3 separate regions of the Homo sapiens genome follow, and regions 1 and 3 are each linked to region 2. The links are contacts of gene promoters, found by promoter capture Hi-C in human tissues and cell types (Jung and others, 2019). All regions are on one chromosome and are shown on one strand. The core of a region is centred on a gene start or on the middle of the fragment in contact, and the rest is flanking DNA. Distances in the headings are between cores, read along the strand shown. Region 1 overlaps ABCC10 (ATP binding cassette subfamily C member 10). Region 2 holds the start of GNMT (glycine N-methyltransferase). Region 3 overlaps ZNF318 (zinc finger protein 318).

The links. Contacts are between HindIII fragments. The study calls those that stand out against the background at their distance.
Region 1: a contact is called between a fragment that was not itself captured here and the fragment with the promoter of GNMT in region 2, in 1 of the 25 tissues and cell types used here (dorsolateral prefrontal cortex).
Region 3: a fragment that was not itself captured here is called in contact with the fragment with the promoter of GNMT in region 2 in 1 of the 25 tissues and cell types used here (dorsolateral prefrontal cortex).

Annotation. Positions count from the first base shown.
Region 1 is chr6:43,440,940-43,443,955 of GRCh38, reverse strand. ABCC10 (ATP binding cassette subfamily C member 10) reads right to left here. Exons shown (of 22, transcript NM_001198934.2): 9 at 1,996-2,094; 10 at 797-986; 11 at 1-23. Among named protein-coding and RNA genes, the nearest start is that of MIR6780B, 7.9 kb to the right of the region's middle. The HindIII fragment of the contact is 4,033 bases long and covers 1-3,016 here.
Region 2 is chr6:42,958,968-42,962,031 of GRCh38, reverse strand. It overlaps GNMT (glycine N-methyltransferase), which reads right to left and starts at 1,278. Exons shown (of 6, transcript NM_018960.6): 1 at 1,059-1,278. The coding sequence starts at 1,264. All of the region lies in intron 1 of CNPY3-GNMT (CNPY3-GNMT readthrough), which reads right to left. RefSeq lists enhancers at 830-879, 1,058-1,559. The HindIII fragment of the contact is 14,111 bases long and covers 1-3,064 here.
Region 3 is chr6:43,358,587-43,361,709 of GRCh38, reverse strand. The region is part of intron 2 of ZNF318 (zinc finger protein 318); the gene reads left to right. Among named protein-coding and RNA genes, the nearest start is that of ZNF318, 9.5 kb to the left of the region's middle. The HindIII fragment of the contact is 8,687 bases long and covers 1-3,123 here.

The DNA.
Region 1 (3,016 bases), core at 517-3,016, 480 kb before region 2:
TGGCAGAATCTCAGAGGGAGGTCCTGGAGGGTAGAAGGGGAGATTGGGAGAGGACTGTTCTGAGTCTATACTATGCCTTTCTCAGTGCGTGTGCAGATCCCACCTCTCATCCTCTCAGGCCTCCCCGTCTAACCCACCCTAGCAGGATACCCCTAGACCTCGAGCAGGACTCTTAGGCCTCCCTCTCTAACCCACCCTGCTCTGGATACCCCTAGACCTCGAGCAGGACTCAAGTCCATCCTTGTAAACCTTGATTCCGACCAGCAGAGAGGGACGAATGTCCATCCCCAAGAGGACCGCCAGAGCTATGCCTGCCACTCTGTCCAGGGTTACTTCTCATTACTGCAGAGCTTTTTCTCATGCTTCGCTCAATTCCTAATATCTGGCTGGAGCTTCATTTCCTCCTATTTCTCTCCCAGTAAACTTGCAGGTGGTCACATCCCTCTGCATAAAAATCTTTCAGAGTTTAAAAATTTTTGTTTTTACAAAAAGACCATTCTAAACCTGACTCCTTTCTCTTCTCTGAAGATATGAGAATGTTCTCAGAGACCCTGGGCCTTTAAGTTCCCAAGAGCACCCAGTCACAAAGCCCATGAGTCCCAAATACACTGGCATTTTACCAACGTACTCCTTTTCCCTCCTGTTCTCCCAGTTCCTCACACCAGTTCTGTGAAGGCGGGAGGCAGCAATGACTGGCTCAGGGCACACATGCAGCAGGGGGCAGAGTCTGTACTTCACAATCCCCTGCCAGACCTGGGCAGACACCTCCCTCACACGGGGCTCCTGCCCCCATTACCAGCCCGGATGAGGCGCCCGGCCTCCATCAGCAGCACCGCGTCAGCCCTCTCCAGGTACTCAGTGCGGTGGGTGCAGAGCAGCCGTGTGGTGTAGCTCAGCATGCCCAGGATGCACCTGTGCAGCAGGTGGTTGGCCACATCTGCATCCACAGCGGCCAGAGGGTCATCGAGGAGATAGAGCTCCTTTTCCTATGGAGACGTGAGGGTACCGTGGGCACCAGGACCCAAAGGCTCTCCGGAGAAGATCTCAAAGTGATCAGAGAAGACAGTTGAGAGAAACTCTGGGGGCTACCCCTACACTAGCAGAGAAGGAGGTGAGACCTGAGGGTGGACATCCCTTCAGGCAAGAAAGAACAGCACCCCAGGGCCAGCACTCAGCTTTCCTAGGTCCCAGGCCCTCAGCCCATATAACACTTTTTTTTTTTTTTGAGACATGGTCTTGCTCTGTTGCCCAGGCTGGAGTGCAGTGGCATGAACACCACTCACTGCAGCCTCAATTTCCCAGGCTCAAGTGATCCTTCCCACCTCAGCCTCCTGAGTAGCTGGGACTACAGGTGCATGCTATCAAGCCCAGCTAAATTTTTTTGGAGACAGGGTTTCATTCTCATCACCCAGGCTGGAGTGCAATGGTGTGATCTTGGCTCACTGCAACCTCTGCCTCTCGGGTTCAAGCGATTCTCCTGCCTCAGCCTCCCGAGTAGCTGGAATTACAGGCATGTGCCACTATGCCCAGCTAATTTTTGTATGTTTTTCAGTAGCGATGGGGTTTCACCATGTTGGCCCAGCTGGTCTCGAACTCCTGACCTCAAGTGATCCACCCTCCTCGGCCTCTCAAAGTGCTAGGATTACACCAACTAACTTTTTAAAATTATTTTTTGTAGAGACAGGGTTTTGCCACATTGCCCAGGCTGATCTTAAACTCCTGGGCCCAAGCAATCCTCCTGCCTTGGCCTCCCAAAGTGCTGGGATTACAGACCTAAGCCACCATGCCCAGCCTACAAATACTTTTTAAAGGCCTTGAACTCTGCCTTAAATCTGCAAAAGGGGATGAGATGGCCAATACCTCAGGAACATGCAAGGGAGGAGGGAAGGAACCAGATGCTAAGGAAAATATTCCTATCCTCCTAACTCAGCCAAGTTCCCAAGGCTCTGGACTCCCCCCACCTCCCTGCCACTGCAACCTCCATCTTTAACTGACCTGGTAGACAGCACGAGCAAGGGCAATCCGGGCACGCTGTCCTCCGCTAAGGGTGACACCCTTCTCCCCCACCTCTGTCTGGTCTCCAGCAGGCAGGATCTGATGGAACAGGTGCCCCAGTGGGTCAGGGAGCTCCCATTACCTTCTGGCCCACTTCCTATCCCTTTGCAGGAGATAGTGGGAGTCAAGAGAAGTAGGGAGCTTGAGGAGAGTAGACTTAAATTTGGGGTGAGCTAGTCAGAGGAGACAAGACATAATTCCAATAACATCAAGCACTTATTGAACACTATGTGCCTAGCACTTTACAGGCATTCTCTCATTCAAGCCCCAATGTAATCTTATGAAGATGGTATCATTTCCTTTTCTCAGGTGCAACCAAAGCTCAGACAGATTAACTAGCTGGCCCACAGCTAGTAAGGGGCAGGACACAAGTTCAGATTCAGATTCTTAACTACTTTGTTACATTTACTACCCTTTTTTTTTTTTGAGACGGAGTCTCGCTCTGTCGCCAGGCTGGAGTGCAGTGGCACAATCTCAGCTCACTGAAACCTCCACCTCCTGGGTTCAAGCGATTTTCCTGCCTCAGCCTCTCGAGTAGCTGGGACTACAGGCGTGTGCCACCATGCCCAGCTAATTTTTGCATTTTTAGTAGAGACGGGGTTTCACCATGTTAGCCAGGATGGTCTCGATCTCCTGACCTTGTGATCCACCCACCTTGGCCTCCCAAAGTGCTGGGATTATAGGCGTGAGCCACCGTGCCTGGCCTATTACCCTGTCTTTTTAACAGGCAAGGTAGTAAGGTATCTTGGGCAGATTTGATGTAAAAGCTTTTATAGGTTTTTACTTTTTTGTGTGTGTGAGACAGAGTCTTGCTCTGTCGCCCAGGCTGGAGTGCAGTGGCATGATCTCAGCTCACTGCAACCTCCGCCTCTCGGGTTCATGCAATTCTCCTGCCTCAGCCTCCAGAGTAGCTAGGACTACAGGTGTGAGCCATGACACCCAGCTAATTTTTGTTTTTTTT
Region 2 (3,064 bases), core at 29-2,528:
TTTTTTAAAAGCACCTCTTCAGAGCCAGGCACTCTACAAATATGCATTAATTCTCATGGCAATCCTGAGAGGTAAATAGTGTCATTCCCATTTGAGAGACAGACAAGCTGAGGCTCCTTGAAGTTAAAATACGTGTGCACAAAAGGCAGTAGAACATGGTGGTTTAGAGCACAGGACAAAGCCGGGCGCGGTGGCTCATGCCTGTAATCCCAGCACTTTGGGAGGCCGAGGTGGGCAGATCACAAGGTCAGGAGATCGAGACCATCCTGGCTAACACGGCGAAACCCCGTCTCTACTAAAAATACAAAATATTAGCTGGGCGTGGTGGCAGGCGCCTGTAGTCCCAGCTACTCGGGAGGCTGAGGCAGGAGAATGGCATGAACTCAGGAGGCGGAGCTTGCAGTGAGCCGAGATGGAGCCACTGCACTCCAGCCTGGGCGACAGAGCACGACTTCATCTCAAAAAAAAAAAAAAAAAAAAAGAGAAAAATAGAGCACAGGACAGATCTTAACCAACCCGGGCCTGTTAGCTCCTTTTCACTGGATGATGTATGAGGGAATTTTACTTTGCTGAGGCCTTACTTCCCCAGTAGTAAATGAGAGAATATCACTGCTTAACTTCATGGGGCTTTGTGAGGGTTTGAAAAAGTGATGTATCAAAAGCTCCTGGCACTGGGCTTGGCAGGTGCAAATGTTGAGCAATGTTAACTGTTAACACTGCCCAAGGCCATCACAGGAGGAATATTTGCAATCTGTCCGTGGCTCTGGCTCCAAAGCCTCAGGGACGCTCACTTTTTCTGCCCACACCCTCACTCACACTCAGTCTCCCTTCTCCGGGGCCTCTCCCTGCGAACCGCTACCTGGACCCCTAGCCTCACGGGGCACTCGCAGTGCCTGTTCTGCCGGGCAGGTACCTGCTCCTGGCCCTGGTGTCCCACCCGTTCCAGGATTGGCAAAGGCCGCCCTGACGTGCCCGGCCCTGTGGTTCTGCGGCCGCGCAGTACAGGCTGAGACAGACCCCGATCTCATGCAACGCCCCCGGCCCCGGCCTGGGCTCACCCAGTGCCACAGGCTACGTCGAGCACCCGCTGGCAGCCGTGCTGGCGCAGCAGCCCAAGCAGCCATGCCTTGTACTCGGCGGTGCGGCTGCGGGTGTCTCCGATATACAGCTGCCACACGCGCGCCGCCTCCCCGTCCGCGTACTGGTCCGGGAGCCCTTCGGCCGCCACCCCCAGGGAGCGGGTCCGGTACACGCTGTCCACCATCCTGCGCCGCGCCTGGCTCCGCAGCCACCCGCTCCGCACTTAAAGCATAAGCACTGCTGGCAGCCGACAGCCCCACCTGGCCAATAGCAGGTGAGCGCGCGGACACGCCCCTGCCGGGCTTTGGGCCGGGCGCCCGAGTCTGTCCAGCTGCAGGGAGGGCGCTGCCTCGCAATCCTGGGCTAGGTCCTTTTAGCCAGCCTGCGGACCCAGCCCTCTGTGCAATCCCACGGCGGGAGAGGACCCTCGGAGCCCTCTGCCCACTTAACCCGGGTCTCGAGGAGAAGGCGAGAGGGGTCAGGAGAGGCGGGAGCAATGAGATTGCCACTCCATCCCCTGAGATCCGCAGAGCTGAGCGCCAGGCGGGCAGGACTGGACCGTTCCCAGCGAAGGAAGGCATCAGCATATCTAAACAAAGATTGTGCCACCGAAGTGTGTAGGTATAGTCAGCCGGTGCAGGGAAGACAGGGGGAGTCTCTGGAGGTAAAGCTGGTCTGTCCACCGAATCCAGGGGCGGAGCCCGGCTGGAATACGGTAACACGGTAACACGGTGAAACCTGGCTAACACGTCTCTACTAAAAATAAAGAAAGATTAGCTGGGACATGGTGACACGCGCCTGTAGTCCTAGCTACTCCGGAGGCTGAGCCAGGAGAATCGCTTGAACCCGGGAAGGCGGAAGTTGCAGTGAGCCGAGTGCACCACTGCACTCCAGCCTGGGCAACAGAGCAAGACTCCGTCTCAAAAAACAAAAAGCAAAAAACAAACAAAACCCTCTGCTTTCACAGGAAGCAGGAGAATAGGGTCTAGAGACAGGGAACATAAGGCCAATTCACACTTCAGTTATAACGGGAAATATCCTCTCCATAGGGCGTATGCCCGCCATTAATAACTTTGTAACTGTAACTTTACTTCATCCTCTTCATTTACATAGGGTGTACCCCAAGTAGAGGGTATTTAAACTCACAAAATGTAACAGGGCCTTTGAGCCCCTATGCTCATGCTCGCTCCCACACTGTGGAGTGTACTTTCATTTTCAATAAAATCCTTCATTCCTTTCTTGCTTTGTTTGTGCATTTTGTCCAATTGTTTGTTCAAGATGCCAAGAACCTGGACATCCTCTACCGTTAACATATTTTGGCGAGCCAGCCAGCAGAAAGAGGTAAGCCCAAAGTTTGGGATTCATTTTTCTCCCTTTCCTTTCTGCTCAATTACAGGGCCGCTCTCGCGCTTCTCTCTCTCTCTCTCTCTCTCTCTCTCTCTCTGCCTCTCTCCTCCTTCCTTTCCAACTTGGGACCCTTGGTGGGCAGCGCCTAAACATGGAAGCAACTGCAGGGTTTTTTTTTGTTTTTGTTTTTGTTTTGAGACACAGTCTCGCTCTGTCGCCAGGCTGGAGTGCCGTGGTGCAATCTCAGCTCACTGCAATCTCCGCCTCCCAGATTCAAGCAATTCTCCTGCCTCAGCCTCCTGAGTAGCTGGTATTACAGGCGCTCACCACCACGCCCGGCTAATTTTTGTATTTTTAGAAGAGGCAGGGTTTCACCATGTTGGTCAGGCTGGTCTCAAACTCCTGACCTCGTGATCCACTGGCGTCGGCCTCCCAAAGTGCTGGGATTATAGGTGTGAGCCACAGCGCCCGGTCTGTGCTACTCTTCTAAGCAGGGGGCCTGGTTAACGGGTGATGCTCTCCTTTGGTACTGTTTGGCCCCAGTGCTCCTTGGAGCCTGGGGAGGTTTAGCCTTTAAAAATCAAACTGTCCAGCACTTTAGGAAGCCAAGACAGGTGGATCACGTGGTCAGGAGTTC
Region 3 (3,123 bases), core at 263-2,762, 400 kb before region 2:
AAAGGTAATGTGAAAAATTCTAAAACACTTGGCTTCTAAAGACTTGTGGATGTTAGGTTGATTTCTCCTGTTCATCAAAGTAATTTGCACATTTAATGTTCCATTCATGGAGCTATTTATTTAAAAAAAATTATTAACTTTTTAAAAGACAATGTCTTGCTCTGTTGCCCAGCCTGGAGTGCAGTGGCGTGATCATAGTTCACTGTAACCTCAAACTCCTGGGCTCAAGTGGTCCTCCCAGCTCAGTCTAAAGAGTAGCTAGGACTATGGGCTGCACTGCCACACCTGGTGAATTAAAAAATAAATTTTTAGAAATTGGGTTTCTATCTATCTGTGTTGTCCAGGCTAGTCTCCTGACCCCAAGCAATCCTTCTGCCCTGGCCTCTCCAAGTGCTAAGATTACAGGTGTGAGCCATTGTGCCCAGCTTATCGCCTAATTTCTTCTCCTTATTCTGACAGATTGAAGGAGTGGGATTTTTTTCCCTCTGATTTTCTTTAGGGAATAGAAGCAAACAGCTTTCTTGGGGCATTTTTGGGACTCATCAACAGAAAAGAATGGAGAGTTTAGGCTCTGAAGGACCTTTTAAAATATGTATACATTTTTAACAGCTTTATCGAGATGTAATTTGTATACTATATAATTCACCCATTTGAAGTGTACAGTTCAGTGATTTTTCGCATATTCAGAGTTGTGCATCCCTCACTACAATCAATTTTAGAACATTTTTATTACACCAGAAAGAAGCTCTGTTCCTTTAGCCATTACTCCCTCCACCCTACCCCCAGCCATAGGCAATCACTAATCTACTTTCTGTCTCTATAGATTTGCCCGTTCTGGACATTTCATATAAATAGAATCATATAATATGTGGTCTTTTGTGACTGGCTTCTTTCACTTAGCATATTTTTTTTTAAGGTTCATCCGTGTTTGTAGCATTCCTTTTTATTGCTGATAATATTTTATTGTATGGATATACCATGTTTTGTTTATCCATTCATCAGTGGTGAATGAATGGATAACATTTTGATTCTTTTCACTTTTTGGCAATTATGATTAATGCTGCTCTGAACATTGGTATAAAAGTTTTTATATGGACATACATACATTTTTTAAAAACTTGTTTAACAGAGATTTGTAAACACAAAAATGTAGAATAGTACAGTGAAACCCCATGTCCTTATTACCTAACTCCAACAATCAGTTTTTTTAAATAGATAGACTTTATTTTAGAAAACAGTTGAACTTAACCAAGGCTTTCCGGGAGTATCCATCGCTGGACTCTTTCAGGGTATAGGAGATTGTACCCTTTTTAGGGTTCTTACTACAGCCAGTTCTCTTCTCATATCCTTTTGGAGTCCTGGGGAAGGAGGACATGAGCTTCTAATAAGCAACCTGATTTCTGCCTATATGTATGTGATAGCTTTTTTAAGAAAACTGTTTTTATGCCTTTTTTCTGTCTCTACTGGAGATTCCAAGTCTGGACTACAGCTTTTTGAGAGCCATCTCATTTGTAGCTTCTTGATAGTTAGTACTGGTTTAGACCTTGGGCTAGTATGCCGTTTCATGGTGACATGTAATAGTTCTGGTGGGGAGCTGAATGTGGGAGTGTGAATGAACTTGCCACTCCTCATGGAGCCTATGTTTTTTCTCCCTATACTAATATGGTCAGAGACTTTTTGTATGGTAGATGGTGTTTTGGCAATGGAGTGACTCAACTCATGAACATTCCTCTCTGGAAATAGGTGTGTTTATGGCTGACAGACCTATAGAGAAAAATTTTTACCTCAGTTTGATTTCAGAAATCATCCTTGGTTTATTCCCATTTATTCCTATTTCATACTGCATTGAAACCTCAAAATTTCCCAAATTCTTAGGAAGAAGGTGGGTAACAGAAACCTGGATTCCCACAGGTGGCATTCTTGTTAGAGAAGGTAAATAAAGTTTGTCCTTGATAACCTTTCATAAATTTATTCCTAGGTCTACAACTTTGATCAAAGGCAGGCTGGTGAATAAGAAAAGGCAATGTTTTGAGATTCTGCTGGCATAGTCTCAGAGATAGGAAAGCAACTACTAAAAAAACTAAGGAAAAGTCATTTCTAGAAACTCACAACAAAAGTAGCTACTAGAAACTGTAGAAGACACTAATAGTTACCATCCTCTAGATGATAATTCACTCTGGAATGTGAGTGACATGTAAGAACTTTTATTTTTTATTCAGAGTACTTAGAAGTTTTCATACATAAAGTGCTAGAGGATCTTTATTTCTATCTGTGATTTAAATCAGAAACTTTAGTTTTGTGTCATAGCCATAGCCCCTGAGAAGGTTAGCATTATTGGGTGTGGTATAGAATTCTCAGCTAAAAGAATAGCTGTCCCATCCTGGATTTTTACCTCATGCCACAAAGGTCTGAGACCTTTGTATTTAATGAAATAAAAATATATGGTGAACCAAACCATCACTTTCTCTTTTCTAAGCCCAAGATTAGCAGAGTGCTTGTAGATATCCAGAGAAGGCAAAGAGGGTGACAAAACAGGCTGTGAGAGAGCTTTATGGGTTTTAATATGTGAACCATCAAGGCAAAGCATTGGAGAACCTTCTAAATCTTATGAGAAAATCATGCTAATTAGATAAATCAGTAGTTTTTTTAAAAGTTACCATATAGTGATACTTTTTTTTCCCAATTGAATTATTAGAACCTTAATATACAGACTTAAAGTTGGAATTAGTGTGATTTAACTGGGATAGAAGGTCAAGAGCCCTGCTGGTTCTGCTTTTCTAGTACCTCCTTTCTTTTGGTAGCTCCTGAGCACTCTTTACAACCTCTGGAACACAGCTTTAAAACCATTTATCTGAGCCACGTGTGGAGGCTCACGCCTGTAATCCCAGCAGTTTGGGAGGCTGAGGCGGGCAGATCACCTGAGATCAGGAGTTCGAGACCAGCCTGGCCAACATGTGAAACCCCATCTCTACTAAAAAAATGCAAAAAGTCAGCCAGCATGGTGGTGCACACCTGTAATCCCAGCTACTTAAGGAGGTTGAGGCACAAGAATCACTTGAACCAGGGAGGTAGAGGTTGCAGTCAGCCGAGATCATGCCACTGCACTCCAGCCTGGGTGACAGA